Regions from separate parts of the Homo sapiens genome. Here regions 1, 2, 3, 4, 5 and 7 are each linked to region 6. The links are contacts of gene promoters, found by promoter capture Hi-C in blood cells and fetal thymus (Javierre and others, 2016). All regions are on one chromosome and are shown on one strand. Each heading gives the region's core, a stretch centred on a gene start or on the middle of the fragment in contact. The rest is flanking DNA. Distances are from core to core; before and after follow the strand shown. Region 1 holds the start of SMU1 (SMU1 DNA replication regulator and spliceosomal factor). Region 2 has its middle 2.8 kb from the start of APTX. Region 3 overlaps HACD4 (3-hydroxyacyl-CoA dehydratase 4). Region 4 overlaps HAUS6 (HAUS augmin like complex subunit 6). Region 5 has its middle 1.7 kb from the start of MLLT3. Region 6 holds the start of IFT74 (intraflagellar transport 74). Region 7 overlaps DNAJA1 (DnaJ heat shock protein family (Hsp40) member A1).

Region 1 (2,722 bases), core at 145-2,644, 6.1 Mb after region 6:
GGCAGGAGAATGGCGTGAACGTGGGAGGCGGTGCTTGCAGTGAGCGGAGATCGCGCCACTGCATTCCAGCCTGGGTGACAGAGTGAGACTCCGTCTCAAAAAAAAAAAAGGGAACTGATTGCTGCTACCTGCAGTAGTCTTTTTCTCTCATGGCCCCTTTATGAGGTATGCAGGTATCCAGACTTAGACCCCTGTTATTCTGCTATGATACTATCTTCCTTAGCACATGTCCGTTGACTTCCATTTTACACTCCCAAAATAAGTCATCTCTCTCCTCAAACAGCTCACATTTGACATAGCCAAAATCAAATTCCCTACCTTCAAACAGAAATGAATACATAAAGAGCTAGAAGCTTTGAAGATAGTCTGGGATTTGAATCAAAGTTATGTGACCTTGGACAAGTAGGTTAACATCATTTCAGTATTTGCTGAATGCATAAACCTCCCTTCCTCCTATGAAAAGTCTCCAAAAAAGGTCCTCTCCCTCCCTTACACTCAGACACAATTTTTATGTCTGTTAATTTAATTATTATTAAGTGTTGGCAAGGACAGGTGGAGGATGGAGTTCTGGAAAAGCACACTAAGGTCTTCTTTAGTCACTAATTCTCATCCCCTATTCCTTGAAAATTTTTCTTTCTAGCCCAGTCTCCAGTCTGTCTCTCCCCAGACAACCCAAAATTCCGTGCCAGATCGGGCCTGATAGTTGTTCATTCATTCCAAAAGCTAGTTGTTCATTCATTCCAAAAGCAATTAACTCTTCCTCTAAGGTATGCTAGACACTGAGACCACAAGGAAAAGGAGCTCCTAGGCACCGACAAAGGCTAGTTTGGGGTGAGGTTATCAAACAGTGACAATACTGAGTGATAAACGCTAGGCAGAGAAAAGCAAAGGGGCCGTATAAGCAGAGACAACGAATCACATTGCATAAGCTGGACAGGGAGAGAAGCAAGGCTTAAAGAGACCTATCCCCTTGCGCAGATAATTAGACTGGAGTCCAGAGTGGATCCTTAATTTGGTCAATCACAGCGCGCCAGCAGTCGGCCAAGGACAGAACTTAGGTCTGCAAGGTGTGTTTTCCCCACCCGTGCCACCTCCCTCGAGGTTTTGGGCTTCACGTCTGAGAGCTGCTACTTTCCTGTGGGCCCACCTCCGAGGTAGCGAGATCCAAGATGCTTCTTTGGGGGCAAGGAAATGGCCCTCCACTCCCTGGCCTCTCGGATGCCTTCTCCCGAGTACCCTCCGCCCCACACCCTTAACCTCCAGGCCCCCGGCAAGGCGCGAACATCCCCACCGCAGGACTCACTCCGAAGATTCGATTTCGATCGACATAGCCGTATCTCTCCGGGAGCAGGCCCCAGCTCTCCCTCAAGGCCAGTCGCGCAACACACCAACGACACCTCCGGCGGACACCTAACGTCACTTCCGCTTGGGTCGGCGTCTGGCTCCCGCTCTGGAGATAGAGTGAACGAAGAGTAGGGGCGAGGTTCGCGTAGGGGCGGAGCCCTCAGGGGCTGTCAGAGGGCGGAGTTTATGCCCCTGCCCCAGAGAAATACGCATCAGGAGGAAGACTGTTTAAAAGCAGGCCGGAGCCGGGTGCGGTGGCTCACGCTTGTAATCCCAACACTTTGGAAGGCCGAGGCGGGCGATCACCTGAGGTCGTGAGTTCGAGACCAGCCTGACCAACATGGAGAAACCCCCGTCTCTACTAAAAATACAAAATTAGCCGGGCGTAGTGGCGCATGCCTGTAATCCCTACTCGGGAGCCTGAGGCAGGAGAATCGCTTGAACCCAGGAGGCGGAGGTTGCGGTGAGCCGAGATCGCGCCATTGCACCCCAGCATGGAAAACAAGAGCGCAACTCCGTCTCAAAAAAAAAAAAAAAAAAAAAAGAAAGATAGAAAAGAAAAAGAAAAAAAGCACCGGGCGCCATACAGCTCACAAATGTACTGAAAAAGAAAAGCGCTGGGGCGGAGCGCGGTGGCTCGCGCCTGTACTCCCAGCGCGCGAGTTCGAGACCAGCCTGGGCAACATGGTGAAGCCCCGTCTCTACTAAAAATACAAAAAATTAGCCGGGCGTGGTGGCGGGGGCGCCTGTAATCTCAGCTACTCGGGAGTCTGTGGCAGGAGAATCGTTTCACCTCTGGAGGTGGATGCGGTGAGCCGAGATCACACCATTGCACTCCAGCCTGGGCAAGGAGAGCAAAATTCCGTCTCAAAAGAAGAAAAGAAAAGTAGTGGTGATAAGATTGTAGTAAGAAAAGCAAAGAAAAGAAAGAAGAAAAGAAAGAAAAGAAAAGAAAGAAAAGAAAGAGCACTGGTTTGGAAAGATTGCTTTTTTTTTGAGACGGAATCTCGCACTGTCGCCCGGGCTGAAGAGCACAATGGCGCGATCTCGGCTCACTGCAAACTCTGCCTCCCGGGTTCAGGAGATTCTCTTGCCTCAGCCTCCGGAGTAGCTGGGATTACAGGTTTCTTGCCATCACGCCAGGCTAATTTTTTGTATTTTTAGTAGAGATGGGATTTCACTATGTTGGTCAGGCTGTTCTCGAACTCCTGACCTCGTGATCCGCCCGCCTCGGTCTCCCAAAGTGCTGGGATTACAGGCGTGAGTCACTGCGCCCAGCCAATGTTGCTTTCGTTTGATGTAATTAGTTGATTAGATTTAAGATGAGGCTGAATATGCAATACCTGATGGGATATTAATACATTCAAAACCAACATAA
Region 2 (2,968 bases), core at 431-2,930, 6.0 Mb after region 6:
GGTTTATATTAGGGTCATATAAGGAAGTGGGAAAACACAAGCAGCATCTCAGCAGCCACACAGGCCTTACAGCTGAGGAATGTTGTTCACAACTGCCCAAGATAAAAAGAGGCAACTCTGGTGACCTGACCAGTTTTGTTGTTCCCTCAATTAAGCATCCCTCTCGGTTAAGGGTGCTTCTTTGACCTGCCTTTGTGTGTCTTGCATCCAAAAGTTGGATTGGATCATTCTAATTACATCATTCACTATATAATGTGCAAAATTGGGCAGAGTTTCCACGTCCTGCTTGTTAGGCCTAGTCCATTGTCTATAGTGTATTAGTGGCCAGAAAAGCAAGATCACATGGCACAATGTATAGCTAAAGGTATGGCAGGCAGTGAAGACTTTCAGGCACTTCATATTGCCATGCTAATCACCAGAACTTTTTCATCTTGAAAAACTGAAACTCGGCCAGGCACGGTGGCTCACACCTGTAATCCCAGCACTTTGGGAGGCCAACGCAGGTGGATTACCTGAGGTCAGGAGTTCAAGACCAGCCTGGCGTGGCGGAACTCGCCTGTAGTCCCAGCTACTTGGGAGGCTGAAGCAGAAGAATTGCTTGAACCCGGGAGGTAGAGGTTGCAGTGAGCCAAGATCACTCCACTGCACTCCAGCCTGGGCGATAGAGCAAGACTCTGCCTCAAAAAAAAAACTCCGTATCGATTAAATAGCTCCCTATTTTCCCTCCCCCACCTGGCAACCACCATTCTACTTACAGTTTTCATGAGTCTGACCACTCTAGGTACCTCATGTAAGTAAAATCAGACAGTATTTGCCCATTTGCGACTGGCTTATTTCACTTAATATAATGTCCTCAAGTTTCATCCACATTGTATCATGTGTAAAAAGTTCCTTTTTAAAGCTGAATAACACTCCATTGCATGTACACACCATACTTTATCCATTCATCCACCCGTGGATATTCCACCATTTGGCTATTGTGAATAATGCTGCTATGAACATGAGTGTATAAATATCTCTTTGAGATCCTGTTTTCACAATTTGCAATTGCAAGAACATGGAACCAACCTAAATGCCCATGAACTGATGAATGCATAAAGAAAATGTCGTACATATACACCACAGAATACTACTCAGCCATAAAGAAGAATGAAATAATGTCTTTTGAAGCAACTTGAATGGAACTGGAGGCCATTTTTCTAAGTGAAGTAACTCAGGAATGGAAAACCAAATACCACATGTTCTCACTTATAATTGGCAGCTAAGCTTTGGGTATGTAAAGGCATACAGAGTGGTATAATGTTCATTGGAGATTCAGAAGTGGAGAGAGTGGGAGGAAGATGAGAGATTTTAAAAAACTACATATTGGGTGTAACTATTACTCGGGTGATAGGTACACTAAAATTTCAGACTTCACCATTATACACTTCATCCATGAAACCAAAAACCATTTGTACCCCTAAAGCCACTGAAATTTGTTTTTAATGTGAAACAATTTTTAAAAATTCTTCTTTCAATTATTTTGAATATATACACAGAAGTGAAACTGCTGGATTATATGGTAATTCCATTTTTAATATTTTGAGGAACTGTCACACTGTTTTCCATAGCAGCTGGATGATTTTACATTTCTACCAATAGTGTACAAGAGTTCCAATTTCTCCACATTCTTGCCAACCCTTTTTTTTTTTTTTTTTTTTGAGATGGAGTCTCGCTCTGTCACCCAGGCTGGAGTGCAGTGGTGCAATCTCGGCTCCCTGCAACCTCCACCTCGCGGCTTAAGGCGATTCTCCTGCCTCAGCCTCCTGAGTAGCTGGGACTACAGGTGCCTGCCACCACACCCGGGTAATTTTTGTATTTTTTTTTTTTTTAGAAGAGATGGGGTTTCACCATATTGGCCAGGCTGATCTCAAACTCCTGACCTTGTGATCCACCCACCTCGGCCTCCCAAAGTGCTGGGATTACAGGTGTGAGCCACTGCGCCCGGCCGCTTGTTACTTTTTTTTGATAGCAGCCATCCTAATGGGTGTGAAATGGTATCTCATTGTGGTTTTGCTTTGTATTTCCCTAATGATTAGTGATGTTGATCTTTTCATAAGCTTCCTGTCTATTTGTATGTATTTGGAGAAATGTCTATTCAAGTACTTCATTTTTTAATGGGGTTATTTTTGTTTTGTTTTGTTGTAGGAGTTCTTTATATATTCTGGATATTGACCTCTGATCAAATATAAGATTCCCATTTCATAGGGTGCTTTTCACTCTGCTTGCTGGCTGTATCCCTGGATGCACAAAACTTAATTGTGAAGTACTTTAATTTACCTATTTTTACTTTTGCTGCCTGTCTTTTGGTGTTATATCCAAGAAAACATTGCCAAATCTGTCATGAAACTTTTCCCTTATGTTTTCTAAGAGTTTTATAGTTTTAGGTCTTATGTTTAGGTCTTTGATCCATTTTTGAGGTGTGGTTTTATTTTTTTGTTTTTTGTTTTTGTTTTTGTTTTTGTGAGACAGAGTCTTGCTCTGTTGCCCAGGCTGGAGTGCAGTGATGCAATCACAGCTTACTGCAGCCTTGACCACCCAGACTCAAACAATCCTCCCACCTCAGCCTCCCAAGTAGCTGGGACTACAAGCATGTCCCACCAAGCCTGGCTAATTTTTTTTTTAATAGAGACAGAGGTCTTGCTATGTTGCCCAGGCTGATCTTGAACTCCTGGGCTCAAGCAATCCTCCTGCCTCAGCCTCCCAAAGTGCTGACATTACAGGTGTGAGACACTGTGCCTGGCCTTGAGTTCATTTTCTGTACTATGTAAGGTAAGGCTCCAACTTCAATTTTTTGCATGTGGATACCCAGATTTTAACAATATCATTTGTTGAAAAGACTGCCCTTTCCTCACTGAATGGTATTGACATACTTACTGAATATCATTTAATCATTTATGCAAGGATTTACTTCTGGGATTTCTATTGT
Region 3 (2,700 bases), core at 21-2,520, 5.9 Mb before region 6:
AAAAGAGCCCGCATCACCAAGACAATCCTAAGCCAAAAGAACAAAGCTAGAGGCATCACGCTACCTGACTTCAAACTATACTACAAGGCTACAGTAACCAAAACAGCATGGTACTGGTACCAAAACAGAGATATAGACCAATGGAACAGAAGAGAGCCCTCAGAAGTAATACCACACATCTACAACCATCTGATCTTTGACAAACCTGACAAAAACAACAAATGGGGAAAGGATTCCCTATTTAATAAATGGTGCTAGGAAAACTGGCTAGCCATATGTAGCTGAAACTGAATCCCTTCCTTAAACCTTATACAAAAATTAATTCACGATGTATTAAAGACTGAAACGTTTGACCTAAAACCATAAAAACCCTAGAAGAACACCTAGGCAATACCACTCAGGACATAGGCATGGGCAAGGACTTCATGACTAAAACACCAAAAGCAATGGCAACAAAAGCCAAAATTGACAAATGGGATCTAATTAAACTAAAAAGCTCCGGTACAGCAAAAGAAACTACCATCAGAGTGAACAGGCAACCTACAGAATGGGAGAAAATTTTTACAATCTACCCATCTGACAAAGGGTTAATATCCAGAATCTACAAAGAACAAATTTACAGGAAAAAAAATCAACCCCATCAAAAAGTGGGCAAAGGATATGAACAGATACTTCTCAAAAGAACACATTTATGCAGCCAACAGACACATGAAAAAATGCTCATCATCACTGGCCATAGAGAAATGCAAATCAAAACCACAATGAGATACCATCTCACACCAGTTAGAATGGCAATCATTAAAAAGTCAGGAAACAACAGGTGCTGGAGAGGATGTGGAGAAATAGGAACACTTTTACACTGTTGGTGGGACTGTAAACTAGTTCAACCGTTGTGGAAGTCAGTGTGGCGATTCCTCAAGGATCTAGAACTAGAAATACCATTTGACCCAGCCATCCCATTACTGGGTATATACCCAAAGGACTATAAATCATGCTGCTATAAAGACACATGCACACGTATGTTTATTGCGGCACTATTCACAATAGCAAAGACTTGGAACCAACCCAAATGCCCATCAATGATAGACTGGATTAAGAAAATGTGGCACATATACACCACCGAATACTATGCAGCCATAAAAAATGATGAGTTCATGTCCTTTGTAGGGACATGGATGAAGCTGGAAACCATCATTCTGAGCAAACTATCGCAAGGACAGAAAAACAAACACCACATGTTCTCCCTCACAGGTGGGAACTGAACAATGAGAACACTTGGACACAGGAAGGGGAATATCACACACAGGGGCCTGTTGTGGGGTGGGGGGAGGGGGGAGGAATAGCATTAGGAGATATACCTAATATAAATGACGAGTTAATGGGTGCAGCACACCAACATGGCACATGTATACATATGTAACAAACCTGCACACTGTACACAGGTACCCTAGAACTTAAAGTATAATTTAAAAAATTAAAAAATAAATGCACAAGAAACAGAAACACAGCACAAAAACAAACCTATCCCCTGTGGACACACCACCACTACTTGATATGTGTAATGCCAATTGCTCAACTAGCTAATCAGTTCCTACTGTTGGTTGGAATTATTTCTCTTGATATTGTGGAGGACCAGTTCCCCCCAAGAAGAATTCAGTTGTCACTTAACAATCTTTTTTTTTTTTTTTTTTGAGACGGAGTCTTGCTCCGTCACCCAGGCTGGAGTGCAGTGGCCTGATCTCTGCTCACTGTAATCTCTGCCTCCAGGGTTCAAGTGATTCTCCTGCCTCAGCCTCCCGAGTAGCTGGGATCACAGGCACGCGCCACCACGTCCAGCTAATTTTTTTGTATTTTTAGTAGAGACAGGGTTTCACCATGTTGGCCAGGATGGTCTCGATCTCTTGACCTCGTGATCCGACCGCCTCAGCCTCCCAAAGTGCTGGGATTACAGGCGTGAGCCACTGCACCTGGCCCACTTAACTATCTCTTGAAGGTAATAATCAAAATCACATCACAACTGTATCGACATGGTTTTTTAGCTTACTTAAAAGCAGCCACTCTCTTAACTACAGTTTCTTCATTTAAAAATGGGGAAACAGGAAAACCAAGAATGATTACACAATCTGAAAGTTTTGTTTCATTATTTTAAAGCAGGGGCCTCAGCGCCATCCCATAATGAGGGAATTCTAATTGTCTGCATAATTCTAATATAGGAAGGAGGGAGAAAATGAAACTTTGGGCACAAAGGCATGTTTCTGAACCTTTATCCAACACCATTTCCATTGTGGGAACCACAAAAAGGATGATAAATTAATAAAAGAAATAGGGGCCAAATAAAATCTTAAAAGAGATAAAAAGAGGAAGCCAAACAACCACAACAAAAATTGATAATATTCAGCTCAGGAAGAGAATAATTTTCTTCCCTAACACAGTGATCTCTGACTTATCTCTCCCAGTAACTGAAGACTTAAAAATCATTTGCACTCCGATAACATCAGATTTTGCAAACTCGCCTTTGAATAAAAGGTCTCAATGTATATTTGCCCCTATGTTTAAATTGCCAAACCAAGATTTGGTTCTTTGATTACAGTTATATTTCTATAAGCCATTAAAGTTTTAATTAGCAGTGATTAAAATCAGGTGTATATTCTGGAATTCCTCCAAGAAATCAGATTTCTAAGTTATATAATAATTTCTATT
Region 4 (2,969 bases), core at 238-2,737, 7.9 Mb before region 6:
CCTGAAGAAGACAGATATGTAATGTTAAACCCTTAATAATCATGGCTGATCCTGAAGCTGTCTTCATTAGCAGTTCACTGGTTATCATGAACCTATAAAAGGTTGTTAATACTATTGTGAAATTGTATGTCACTGGCAGAATTAACTAATTCCAATATTCCCACTTAGCAATAAGGAATATAAGTAGATATGGTACAAAATGTACAAATAGTAGAAAATGTGAAATTAGAAATTAAATTTAACTGTGGTATCAACAAAAATAAATAATATTTTATAATTTAGTATGGTCCAGAATTAATTGAGACTTATTTTAAAATATACCTTTTCAAGTACTGTAACACTGTTTCTATCTGATGATGAAACTGACTGCGACAAGAAAGAGGCAGGGCTAAAAGGAAAAAAGACAACAAATCCAAGTTATAAGGAGAAAAGAATTCCATTCCCTTTACGAGTCTATTCTAAAATCTGTCTGCCCCGTATCTGTCCGTTACGATTTCACTCAATTCGTCCCGGTCATCAAAAGGCAGTTTATTCTAGGGAGGCATGGTGACAAGTAGAGCAGTATTTCAGCCCAATTTGTGTATCAGCCTCCCAATTATGAAGACTTTACTTACCACATACTGAGTCAACAATATTTTGATTTGAAAGAGTTAAGTGACTTAATGAATACTCCACAACTTGAACACAGGTTAAAAACAGATTCAATTAACTAGAACTGCATTATTACAATGTCACAGGTTCCAAATCACAGTTTCTTTGTAGCAGATCCTTTATTTTATTTTTTTTTTTTTTGAGACGGAGTTTCGCTCTTGTTGCCCAGGCTAGAGTGCAATGGCGCGATCTTGGCTCACCACGACCTCCGCCTCCCAGGTTCAAGCGATTCTCCTGCCTCAGCCTCCTGAGTAGCTGGAATTACAGGCATGCGCCACAACACCTGAGTAATTTTGTCTTTTTAGTAGAGATGGGCTTTCTCCATGTGAGTCAGGCTGGTCTCAAACTCCCGACCTCAGGTGATCCGCCCACCTTGGCCTCCCAAAGTCCTAGGATTACAGGTGTGAGCCACCACACCTGGCCCAGCAGACTTATTTTTAAGATTCTCTTGATACTTCATATCCAAAATCAATTTCTCATATGCTAAATTTTACTCTATAGCAAACATGTTACAGTTTCACAGTAATGTCATAAGGTCAGAGTTTTAGTTTGCCACATTCTGTTGTATTTGTTAATCTTTTGTATTCCCTTGCCCTTTTGGATAAATATTAAAATTTATGCAGCTTTTCATGCTAATTATAAAATGTTATTAAATTCTAAAATCTTCAAAGAAATGGTAACTTTTTTACTTTGGTCTTAAAAACCTTTAAAAGTTAAAAGCCTAAAGCTTTTCTACTCTAGTTACTATAAGACAGGATTATCAAAGACTGCTTTCAACAGCATGCATGTTGGTACTTTCCTTTCTTCTTATAACTAGAAGTACAAAATTAATAGCACTGCAAATATTTTATATCATAGTAAATGTAATTTTCAAACTTTTTCAAATATGCACTCTTAGAGTCTTTGCCTACGTTCCAAACATAATTCAAAATCACTGCAATCACTCAAGCTTCAACGTAGCATTGACAAAATATAATCCAGATATCAAAGGCAAAGAATTGATCATCTACTAGATTTTGAGGGAAACTTAACATTAAAATTATCAAAAAGCCCCCTGAAACAGAGCCAGCAATCTATGGACCAATGCCACTAAGGTGCCACCACCACAAGAAGGTAAGGACAAAGGCTATGTCTTTCCCTAAGGCTATTCCCAGAGGCTAACACAGTGGTTGGTAGTGCAATACATACATGTTAACTATTTGATGGATTGATGGAATCGATGAGTAAATGCCACTTGAGAATGGGGTTCTATAGGTGACAAGTGTTTCCATTTGAATGATTCTTGTGGAACCTTATAGCAGAGAACAATGGAAACATTCTGTACCCTCCCCTCTCTCATTTCTGAACTGGCAACATGCTATTAAACCTGCTAACATCATAATCTAAGACAAGTTTAAAGCAGCCCTGGCTCAGTCTTTATACTTCGTCCATTTGCCATGCCAAGATTGAGGCCTATGAAATCCTAGCACTGTAACAAAACAGAAGGATGGTGATCCCCTTGTGGAAATTTATCCTAAGGGAAGAACAGAGAGAAAAAAGAGGAACACACTTTTTATAGTAGTAAAAAATAAAATTGAGAGAAAATTCAAGTCTACAAATAAATGTAGTGTTACAAAGCTATTATCAATGAAAATTGGTTAATATGTTATTTAAACATACAGACAGCCAAAAAAAAATCACAACCGTTTATACTATGTTAATGTTTTAAAATTTTGGGCTGGGCGCGGTGGCTCACGCCTGTAATCCCACCACTTTGGGAGGCTGAGGCAAGCGGATCACCTGAGGTCAGGAGTTGAAGACCAGCCTCGCCAACATGATGAAACCCCATATCTACTAAAAATACAAAAATTAGCCAGGTGTGGTCATGGGCGCCTGTAATCCCAGCTACTCGGGAGGCTGAAGCAAGAGAATCGCTTGAACCCAGGAGGCAGCAGTTGCAGTGAGCCGAGATCGTGCCATTGCACTCCAGCCTGGGCAACAGGAACGAAACTCCGCCTCAAAAATAAATTAATGAATAAAATTTTGTACTTTAGAATTCTGCATTTTAAAATTTGTATTTAGATTGTATCCATCCTTTGATCACAGCCAAAAATTTTTTTTTTTTTTTTTTGAGACAGACTCTCACTCTGTCGCCCACACTGGAGTGCAGTGGCGGGATCCTGGCTCACTGCAACCTCCGCCTCCTGGGTTCAAGCACTTCTCCTGCCCCAGCCTCCTGAGTAGCTGGAATTACAGGTGCCGACCACCACACCTGGCTAATTTTTGTAGTTTTAATAGGGACAGGGTTTCACCATGTTGGCCAGGCTGTTCTCAAACTC
Region 5 (2,700 bases), core at 103-2,602, 6.3 Mb before region 6:
TTAGAGCCCTCAGCAGCCGGAGAGGGGGTGTTAAATCAAGTCCTTAGCTAGTACGCACGGGGAGGAGGGAGTGGGCTTTCTTTTACTTTCCACCACGTATTTCTGTGGTTTTGTGCTGAAAAGACAAGAACTCACACCCAAACAAACTTACTTAAAGAGAGCGAGAGAAATGCCATCCTGCAAAAAACGAGCATGAAAATAGCAATGACTGAGGCTGTTCTAACCCGCAACGATCCCCTGGCCCCCTGCCCCATCCACTCACAGGCACCCGCCCGCCACCCTCACTCCCCGCCCTTCTGCCACCGCCACCGAAAATTTGAAAATGAAATGAACAAGGGAGAAACAAGGATGCTATTTCCTTGCAAGGGAACGCCTTCCGCTTTGGTAATCCCCGGCTGGGAAGCTTCATAAAGCGGTGCCCAGGTGAAAGCAAGACACCTGGGAGTGCCGGGTACAGACCCTCGGGGACCAGGCTTGGAGTTGTTTTCTTCGGGGGGCTTCCCCTCCTGACAGCCTACTGAGTTGCATCAGAACGTGGAGGATTGTCCTCTGAGGACGCGCGGGGCAACCGGGAGTCTTAAAATAGCAGATAAAGTTAATACTGACTGTAATGTGCGTAAATTGGATTATAATCTTTAGGCGTATTGGTGACAACCAGCGTAATCCATCTCTGAGTATTAATCCGGTTAGACTCCCGGGTGACAGCCAGTCGCAGGAGTGTTCCCAGAGTCGCGCCTCTGCAAATGTTCTCACTCGCGTTGTATTTGATCTCAGTGGCCGGAGATAGAACAGCGCGGCCACGCGTGGGGCGCGGAGAGGAGTATCAACTACTGGCTTCCTTTACAGACGCAGATAACCTTTAAAAAGGAAACGGATAAGATCTAGACGATTGATTTGAAAGTGAAAGATGGATGTGACTTTGGTTCGTTAAAAAAAGATCCTTGCATCTTCCTAGCCCTTAGACCTCTTTTGCCTTCTCTTTACTCCCCTTTTTCCCTCGCCTTCCAACTTCTTGCTGAACCTTGATTTTTCCTTCTCTTCTCCTTGCCTTTCCTCTTTGTCCCTCTTTCTTTCCTCTTTGTCCCTTTCTTTCCTCTTTGTCCCTTTCTTTCCTCTTTGTCCCTCTTCCTCTTTCTGACTGAACTTCCTTGCTTTCCTCTTTTCCCTTTACTTCCCTTTTCCACAAAAGCAAGTTGTCTCGGCCCTTGAATTGAGAAGAGCAGAATAGCGGGGAGGACGTTACCTAGGGCGTCCTGTGTCCTCGCTGTTAATTTTCAGTTCTCCCAGCAGCTCTCACAAAGATCCTGGGAATCAGGTCGGACCACTTGGAACCAACCTTAGTTTCCAAACCAGCAGCCTTCCAACTCAACTTTTGATTCCCTAAAACTGATATTCCGCTGCCTGTCAGTTATAATCAAGAAACTTCTTTGGCTTGAGGTCCCCAGTTCTTCCCAGCCTTCTACAGGATTTAGCATAGAATGGAGCAAACGACTGAAGGTAGAAACATTTTAATCTAAATCCAAGGGCTTAGATTTGTCAACTGACACACATATACATAACTGCATATCATCCTGTAGGTATATGCGTCGCTGTGTCTGTATGTATGTACAAGGACTACGTTTATATTCGCAGAGACAAGCTGTGTGGGTAGTATCTACGTGAAGGGGGGACCTATTTATTGTGCATTATTAAACTTTTCATAAAATAATCAAATTTGAGAGCAGTCCTTTGTAATAATAGTATTGGAAACTAAAGGTTATCTGGACGTGCCATTAGTAAAGCCATTTCTTATTAAGAAGTAACCATTAACAGCGAGTGTAGCTCAGGACACAGGCAAAAAACAACAATCCCATTCCCCGTTTGAGTTCATTTCAGGGTTTAACTTCTTCCGGCGCCAGCCACCGGACTCTCTTGAGATTGTCTCCAAAACTTGTACCCGCACAACAGATAGAGGTCTCTTTTTTGAATTATGTGTTTGCTGAATTCAGATTTATTCCAGCAATCACTAATAAGCCATAGAGTCTGAAAGGGTATTTTCCCAGTACCCCTCCTTCCTCAAAGAATGCTCTAACAACCCAACGTAGTTACTCCCAATCTCCAAATACTGGACATTTAGATTCCGTCAGTAGATGGCGCACGGAGCTCTTCCACGGACGTCCTTACGTGACCCCTTCACAACAAAAAGATCAGGAAGGGGGAGAAAAGAAAGAAAAGAAAACACAAGACTGAATACTCTCCCTTCAACTTTGGACAAAGAAATTTATGCAAGTCTGTCAATTTATTAATTACAACCTATTTTAATAAGCTTGCCATTAAAAACAATTAAAATCGATTAATTTCCTGTGCAGATCTTCACACTTTAACGTGAGGTAAAAATGTGGAAAATAACCTTTTGTGTACTTGACAATGTGGTTATAGAAAATGTACTGTAAAGAAATTTTAAGACAAACTTCAGTGCTAAATACAGAAATAGTAATATAATAACTAAAATGGAAGTGGTGAGGGATAAAATCATCTACTTATCCAAAGAATAATTATCTTACCAAAATTCATACTGTTGTATATAGCACAGTATGAAGCACCATGGGGTTAGTTTGAAGATCAGAAAAGTAATTAACATATCAAATAAAAATCGTGATGAAGAATAAAAGAGAACAGTGTCTGTGACAGATCACTACCACCACTACCATCACCATTGCC
Region 6 (2,772 bases), core at 245-2,744:
AGGAAGCTCAGAGGCAAATAAGTGAGATGTATTCCTATTCTCTATTCCTTTTTCATCATGAAAAAGAAATGGGGACAGGGATCAATACTTACTACCTAAATGAGCTTAAGCAAATTATTTAATCTCTTTAAAACTTGGATAATAGTATCTGTCCTGCCAATTTCAACTGTTAATATCTGTCAGGGTCCTTAAGTGCAAGGAACAGAAATCATCTATAAATGATATAAAAGCTGAAAATGAATTTATTAAAGGACATTAAGCAGCTCACAGACTCTCCCAGAAGCTGAAGAAACAAGCTAGAGGTTCTCCTCCCAATAAAGCCTCTGAGTACCTAACACTGCAGCTTGCAACAACACACTGATGCTGGACACTGGTTGCTGGTGATAGAACATTGCAGTCTCGGAAACGATGTAGTTACTGCGGCTGTCACCCTTACTTCAACAGACTCTCTGAAGTCCTGCTTCTGGTTGTCATTCAAGTTTGAGTTGAGTCCACCAAATTAGATTGGAGAGTCTAGCAAGCAATAATACTCATGTCCCAGTAATAAGGAAGACTAGGAAAGCCAGTATCTGTCACTTTCAGTTCCTGTAAGGGTGTTGGGGGGCAGGGTAAGGGAGAAACTCTGCCAAAAGGATGACAAATGGCCACTGCAAATAGGGTGAGCTCAAATGAGATAATTACATGAAAATGTTTCACAAACTAAGGGAGAATTCAGCCACATAACATTATCTCATTTTGTGTTGTATTGATTTTTAACTCCTCGAAGGCAGGCAAGTTGGAAATAATGTGTAAAATAATGTTAAAATCCCAATACATATGCAATCACATTTAAGCTGTTATCAATGAAGATTGGAAGGAAACATACAGTAAAAGTTATTTTATTAGAGAAGTGGGATTTAAGGTGAAGTAGTTCTTAAATTAAAAAAAAAAAAAAAAAGGACACTTTCCATTGAATTCACAGTCTTCCCCACAAACTTGGATCCAAATTCTAATGAAAGGAAGCTTAAAGACGCAAAGCTTCTGGTGAAAGCAGGAACGGAACAGTTGGTGCCAGAATCGCATCCATACTTCATGATGCGTTGTGTACGCTATGCCGTCCTAATAGGAAGGAAAACTACCACAAATTAGGAGTTTAGAAAATTGCACAATGCTGCCTACCACTTAACTTCAAATGTAACCTGTTAACAACGTTAGCCGACGTGAGGTTACCTAGGGACATAGCAAAACTCGCTAGAGTTACTTCAAGTAAGGCACACGGAGGTTGCTCTGATTATCAAGAAAACCAAACGTTCACATAAAATGTTTGTCTTCCAGCCGCCCCGCTGTTTTCCACTTTTTCCAAAAAGCACTGAAGCGTGGTGAAGAAACAAACATATCCTCAATTCTCGCGAGAGCTCCGTGTGTAACCAAGGGCTGAGGCGGAGGATTGGTCACTCAGGATGAGGAGCCTCCGCTATCCCGCCCCCGTTGCCGGGATACGCCGCGGCGCACGGCAGTTAGTGGGTAGGCCTGAGAGCCGAGGAAAACTGAGCGTGGGCCTCAGAAAGAAGTTAAGGCACCCGCGAGCCGGGCAACTGCCCTCCTTCCGCGCCGGCGGAGGTGAGAATCCCCGGGTCCCATCTCTTCCTCCCTCCCTCCCACGTCTGTTCTCTTGCCTTGGAGATGCTGATCCGCTCCAAACAAAACAAATTCAAACTCGGTCTTAGCTAACTGTTACCGTCGGGCCTGTAGCCAGGCCAGGCATGTACCAATTCTAGTCGAGCGAAGGTTGCGAACAGACCTCCTCCAACAGCCCGACCCCTCCCCGACCCCCCGCAGGAGACCCGCCAAGCACAGAGCAGAGGGAAGGACCGCGATGGGCTGAAGGATTTTAGTCAAAGCAATACATTTCTGCCTCTTACAGTGGAAGGGACTTATTTCTGTCTGTTGATCACAGTGCGGGCAGTTAGCAACTTTCCACTTATTCACCTGTGTGAGAATGGTTGGCTTAGGGAGGATAACGATAGTAATAATAATTAGAAGCAGATGTTTTAAATGTAATACTTATCGTCTTCACAACAGCCCTGCAAGGTAGATGTCACCCTTCTGTTTTACAGAAGATGAAATCCTGAGGGGTTAATTAAGGTGGCAAGATTATGCAGCCGCTAACTTTGTCAGCACTAGTTTGTATCGCTAATCATTCTGGATCCAAAGGCCAGGCTGCCTCTCTGTGTGAATAATTGGAAATTGTGTGACTCTTTGATTGAATAACCCCGAAGTTAGTGGTATATTTGTTGCTAATGCCCGCCTCTTAATCCCACTGGTAATAATATAATGGTAAGCTTTTTTTCACCACAGTAAAACGGTGGCAAAGAAAATTGGGTGAAATTTTTTATGTTGTACATTTTCTCAAAGTTAGCAGGAAACCTAGAGTAATATCTTTTCCACTGGAAAGAGATGTTTATTGTACTCGTTTTCTTCTGGAAAAACCATTTTGATCATACACCGTCTTCCTTTTCAAAGAGTCATTTCATGAAATTCCTTTTTCCATTTGAAATTCTTTTGCTTTGTACATAGAGTTCAAAATGGCAAGGAATTAGAATCAGGGAGCTAGTGGGGTCAGGAAGATTGATGTGAACATATTCAAATGAGATATCTGAATGGAAATTTCAGATAAACAATTGAAAACTCAAAATTGGTGCCCAGTTGAAAGGGCAGAACTGTAGACATTGATTAGTGAGCCGTACACATAGTTGGAGTTATAAAGATGCATGACTGTAGAAAGGATAGAAG
Region 7 (2,801 bases), core at 55-2,554, 6.1 Mb after region 6:
TCTACTCTTGACAACCGAACCATCGTCATCACCTCTCATCCAGGTATGGGAACTAGGCAAGCTTAAACTTCTCTTTTCTATTCTAGTATTTTCCTTGTCTCCTGTTAACAAAGTGTAGTATAGGCACTGAGGGAAACCCATTGTTTTTCTTTCTCGGTTACATATCCTTCTCTGGGCTTAGATGAAGTTATAAGGTCTTGGCTCTCTTGTCAGCCCTTGGAAAACCCATAAGTGAAAGGTAACAGGATTGCTTTGCCACGTAAGTTTTACTCCTGCCAATGAGCTAGGACAGTGCTCTGTTCTTTATATTCCCTGCCTCATAAAAATGTGACCATACTTAAGGAAGAACTTGGCTTCAATGTTTTTAGGTCAGATTGTCAAGCATGGAGATATCAAGTGTGTACTAAATGAAGGCATGCCAATTTATCGTAGACCATATGAAAAGGGTCGCCTAATCATCGAATTTAAGGTAAGCTGTAATGTACTTTAAGAATACTTGAGAACAATTGGCTTACTAAAATCTGATAAAAAAGTAAAATTTCAGCCAGGTGCAAGTAGCTCATGCCTGTAATCCCCGCATTTTGAGAGGCTGAGGCAGGAGGATCCCTTGAGCCCTGGAGTTTTGAGAACAGCCTGGGCAACATAGTGAAACCCTGTCTCTTTAAAAAAACAAAAAAAAAAAAAAATTAAAATTTCTGAATGCCTCAGAACCTGAAACTTACATTTTTCCACAGCAAGAAATATATGGATCTGGCCACGTGCCACTGGCACACACCTATAATCCCAGTGCTTTGGGAGGCCAAGACAGGTGGATTGCTTGAGCTCAGGAGTTAAAGGCCAGCCTGGGCAACATGGCAAAACCCCATCTCTACAAAAAGTACAAAAATTAGCCAGGCATGGTGGCACACACCTGTAGTCCCAGCTACTCGGGAGGCTGAGGTGGGAGGATTGCTTGAGCCTAGGTGGTCAAGGCTGCAGTGAATCAAGATCGTGTCACTGTACTTCAACCTGGGTGACAGAATGAGACCCTGTCTCAAAAAAAGAAAAAAGAAAATTTACCTAATAACTACTTCTGTCATGTTGAGCATTCTTTGTTAACAAGTTGAGGATGGGGTTTTTTGCATCATTAATTGGATATTTAAAGATAGGTTGTGGGAAGGGTGTGTGGGACAAGTGGGTATTTTACTAATGAAAGGTTGTAACTGGCATCTTAAAGTTGAGAGGTGCTTTATAATAATTGCAGATTTCTTGGCAAAATAGTGTAATGCTTGATTTGTTAATAGGTATAAAGCAATCCAGTCATTTTCCTGAGTCTTAAATTGGCCTGTCACCATAAAAATATTAATTAAAACTTTTTTTTTTTTTTTTCCTTTTTGAGACGGGAGTCTTGTTCTGTCACCCAAGGTGGAGTGCAGTGGTGCGATCCTGGATCACTGTAACCTCCACCTCCTGGGTTCAAGCAGTTCTCCTGCCTCAGCCTCCTGAGTAGCTGGGAATACAGGTGCCCGCCACCACGCTGGGCTTTTTAGTAGAGATGGGGTTTCACCATATTGGCCAGGCTGGTCTCAAACTCTTGACCTCAGGTGATCTGCCCATCTCAGCTTCCCAAAGTGTTGGGATTTGTAATCCCAATTGTATGAGCCACCGCGCCTGGCCTAAAAACATCTTTGGTAAGGAAGAACTACCCTTTTGAGAGTAAGAATAGCTTTGTTTAAATATGTCGTAAGAAGGGTTAGGCTGTTGCAGGATGGGTTTTGGTATTAAAAAGTCAGTTTGCTGGATAGAACAATGGTTGTTAAAGTGCAGTTTTATTTAATACAATCATTTTTAATAAAGCCTGACTTCTGGTCATAATCCTTGAACTCTAGTTCAGAGTGTGCTATGCACTGTGCCTTTTTAGAGCCTGTTCTAACCTGAGATTGGCAGATTCACCTAAATATTACGTGTTTACATGTGTTTTTCTGGGGAAAATGGGTCCATGATACTCTAAGGGAGCTAATGATGAAATCAGATTGAACAGTGAAAGTTTCTTTTGAAGGTAAACTTTCCTGAGAATGGCTTTCTCTCTCCTGATAAACTGTCTTTGCTGGAAAAACTCCTACCCGAGAGGAAGGAAGTGGAAGAGACTGATGAGATGGACCAAGTAGAACTGGTGGACTTTGATCCAAATCAGGAAAGACGGCGCCACTACAATGGAGAAGCATATGAGGATGATGAACATCATCCCAGAGGTGGTGTTCAGTGTCAGACCTCTTAATGGGCCAGTGAATAACACTCACTGCTGGCATTTAATGTGCAGTAGTGAATGAGTGAAGGACTGTAATCATAATATGCTCACTACTTGCTCTTGTTTTTGTTTTAATAAACTATAGTAGTGTTTTAAAAAGTTAAATGAAGAATAAACGCAAATATAAAAGCTCTGATTTTGCCCTGTATGTATGATGACTTCAGTGTGCAAGATGAAGTTTAATACCTGTAAAAACTACAAAGAAGTTCCCCTAGCATTTCTAGGCCAAACCTTGTAATTGACTTCAGCTATGTACGTGGACAAGCTTAGACTGAAATGCTAGGTATATGTATTGGCTTCAGTGTATGACCCTTCATTGTTAAGCTATGAAAGTAAAACTCTGTATTTAACTGGCAATGAGGAAAAAAAAATTTTGTAGAGAAGTGTTGGTCTGTATAGTTCTTTATATTAAGTGGGATTCATTGTAATGCCTCTGCATTTATTCTGTTGCCTCAGCTGTTACTTGAAGATGGCGTAATATATAATTTATCCTGTGGTATCAGTGATAAAAATG

What was found. The method cuts DNA at HindIII sites, captures the fragments that hold promoters and counts their contacts. A CHiCAGO score of 5 or more calls a contact.
Region 1: the fragment with the promoter of SMU1 here is called in contact with the fragment with the promoter of IFT74 in region 6 in 7 of 17 cell types (activated CD4 T cells, naive CD4 T cells, non-activated CD4 T cells and 4 more); the score reaches 10.0 in activated CD4 T cells.
Region 2: a contact is called between a fragment that was not itself captured here and the fragment with the promoter of IFT74 in region 6, in 5 of 17 cell types (total CD8 T cells, non-activated CD4 T cells, fetal thymus and 2 more). The highest score is 9.9, in total CD8 T cells.
Region 3: a fragment that was not itself captured here is called in contact with the fragment with the promoter of IFT74 in region 6 in 1 of 17 cell types (total B cells); the score reaches 5.6 in total B cells.
Region 4: a contact is called between a fragment that was not itself captured here and the fragment with the promoter of IFT74 in region 6, in 3 of 17 cell types (non-activated CD4 T cells, naive CD8 T cells and total B cells). The highest score is 13.1, in non-activated CD4 T cells.
Region 5: a contact is called between a fragment that was not itself captured here and the fragment with the promoter of IFT74 in region 6, in 2 of 17 cell types (fetal thymus and total CD8 T cells). The highest score is 12.3, in fetal thymus.
Region 7: a fragment that was not itself captured here is called in contact with the fragment with the promoter of IFT74 in region 6 in 1 of 17 cell types (naive CD8 T cells); the score reaches 6.8 in naive CD8 T cells.

The regions. Positions count from the first base shown.
Region 1 is chr9:33,075,280-33,078,001 of GRCh38, forward strand. SMU1 (SMU1 DNA replication regulator and spliceosomal factor) reads right to left here and starts at 1,395. Exons shown (of 12, transcript NM_018225.3): 1 at 1,304-1,395. The coding sequence starts at 1,329. RefSeq lists enhancers at 1,257-1,406, 1,577-1,776. The HindIII fragment of the contact is 3,581 bases long and covers 352-2,722 here.
Region 2 is chr9:33,002,951-33,005,918 of GRCh38, forward strand. It overlaps a transcript of APTX not described here. Among named protein-coding and RNA genes, the nearest start is that of APTX, 2.8 kb to the left of the region's middle. The HindIII fragment of the contact is 833 bases long and covers 1,265-2,097 here.
Region 3 is chr9:21,021,902-21,024,601 of GRCh38, forward strand. The region is part of intron 3 of HACD4 (3-hydroxyacyl-CoA dehydratase 4); the gene reads right to left. Among named protein-coding and RNA genes, the nearest start is that of HACD4, 8.4 kb to the right of the region's middle. The HindIII fragment of the contact is 4,309 bases long and covers 1-2,700 here.
Region 4 is chr9:19,063,193-19,066,161 of GRCh38, forward strand. It overlaps HAUS6 (HAUS augmin like complex subunit 6), which reads right to left. Exons shown (of 17, transcript NM_017645.5): 13 at 322-388; 14 at 1. It also overlaps SCARNA8. Among named protein-coding and RNA genes, the nearest start is that of RRAGA, 15 kb to the left of the region's middle. The HindIII fragment of the contact is 222 bases long and covers 1,377-1,598 here.
Region 5 is chr9:20,622,835-20,625,534 of GRCh38, forward strand. No RefSeq gene overlaps it. Among named protein-coding and RNA genes, the nearest start is that of MLLT3, 1.7 kb to the left of the region's middle. RefSeq lists silencers at 1-103, 124-263. The HindIII fragment of the contact is 1,902 bases long and covers 402-2,303 here.
Region 6 is chr9:26,954,918-26,957,689 of GRCh38, forward strand. It overlaps IFT74 (intraflagellar transport 74), which reads left to right and starts at 1,495. Exons shown (of 20, transcript NM_025103.4): 1 at 1,495-1,599. IFT74-AS1 (IFT74 antisense RNA 1) reads right to left here and starts at 1,390. Exons shown (of 2, transcript NR_121605.1): 1 at 1,210-1,390; 2 at 863-1,098. RefSeq lists enhancers at 707-1,442, 1,443-2,177. The HindIII fragment of the contact is 1,304 bases long and covers 1,016-2,319 here.
Region 7 is chr9:33,036,647-33,039,447 of GRCh38, forward strand. It overlaps DNAJA1 (DnaJ heat shock protein family (Hsp40) member A1), which reads left to right. Exons shown (of 9, transcript NM_001539.4): 7 at 1-43; 8 at 369-469; 9 at 2,039-2,801. The coding sequence ends at 2,257. Among named protein-coding and RNA genes, the nearest start is that of DNAJA1, 13 kb to the left of the region's middle. The HindIII fragment of the contact is 2,491 bases long and covers 60-2,550 here.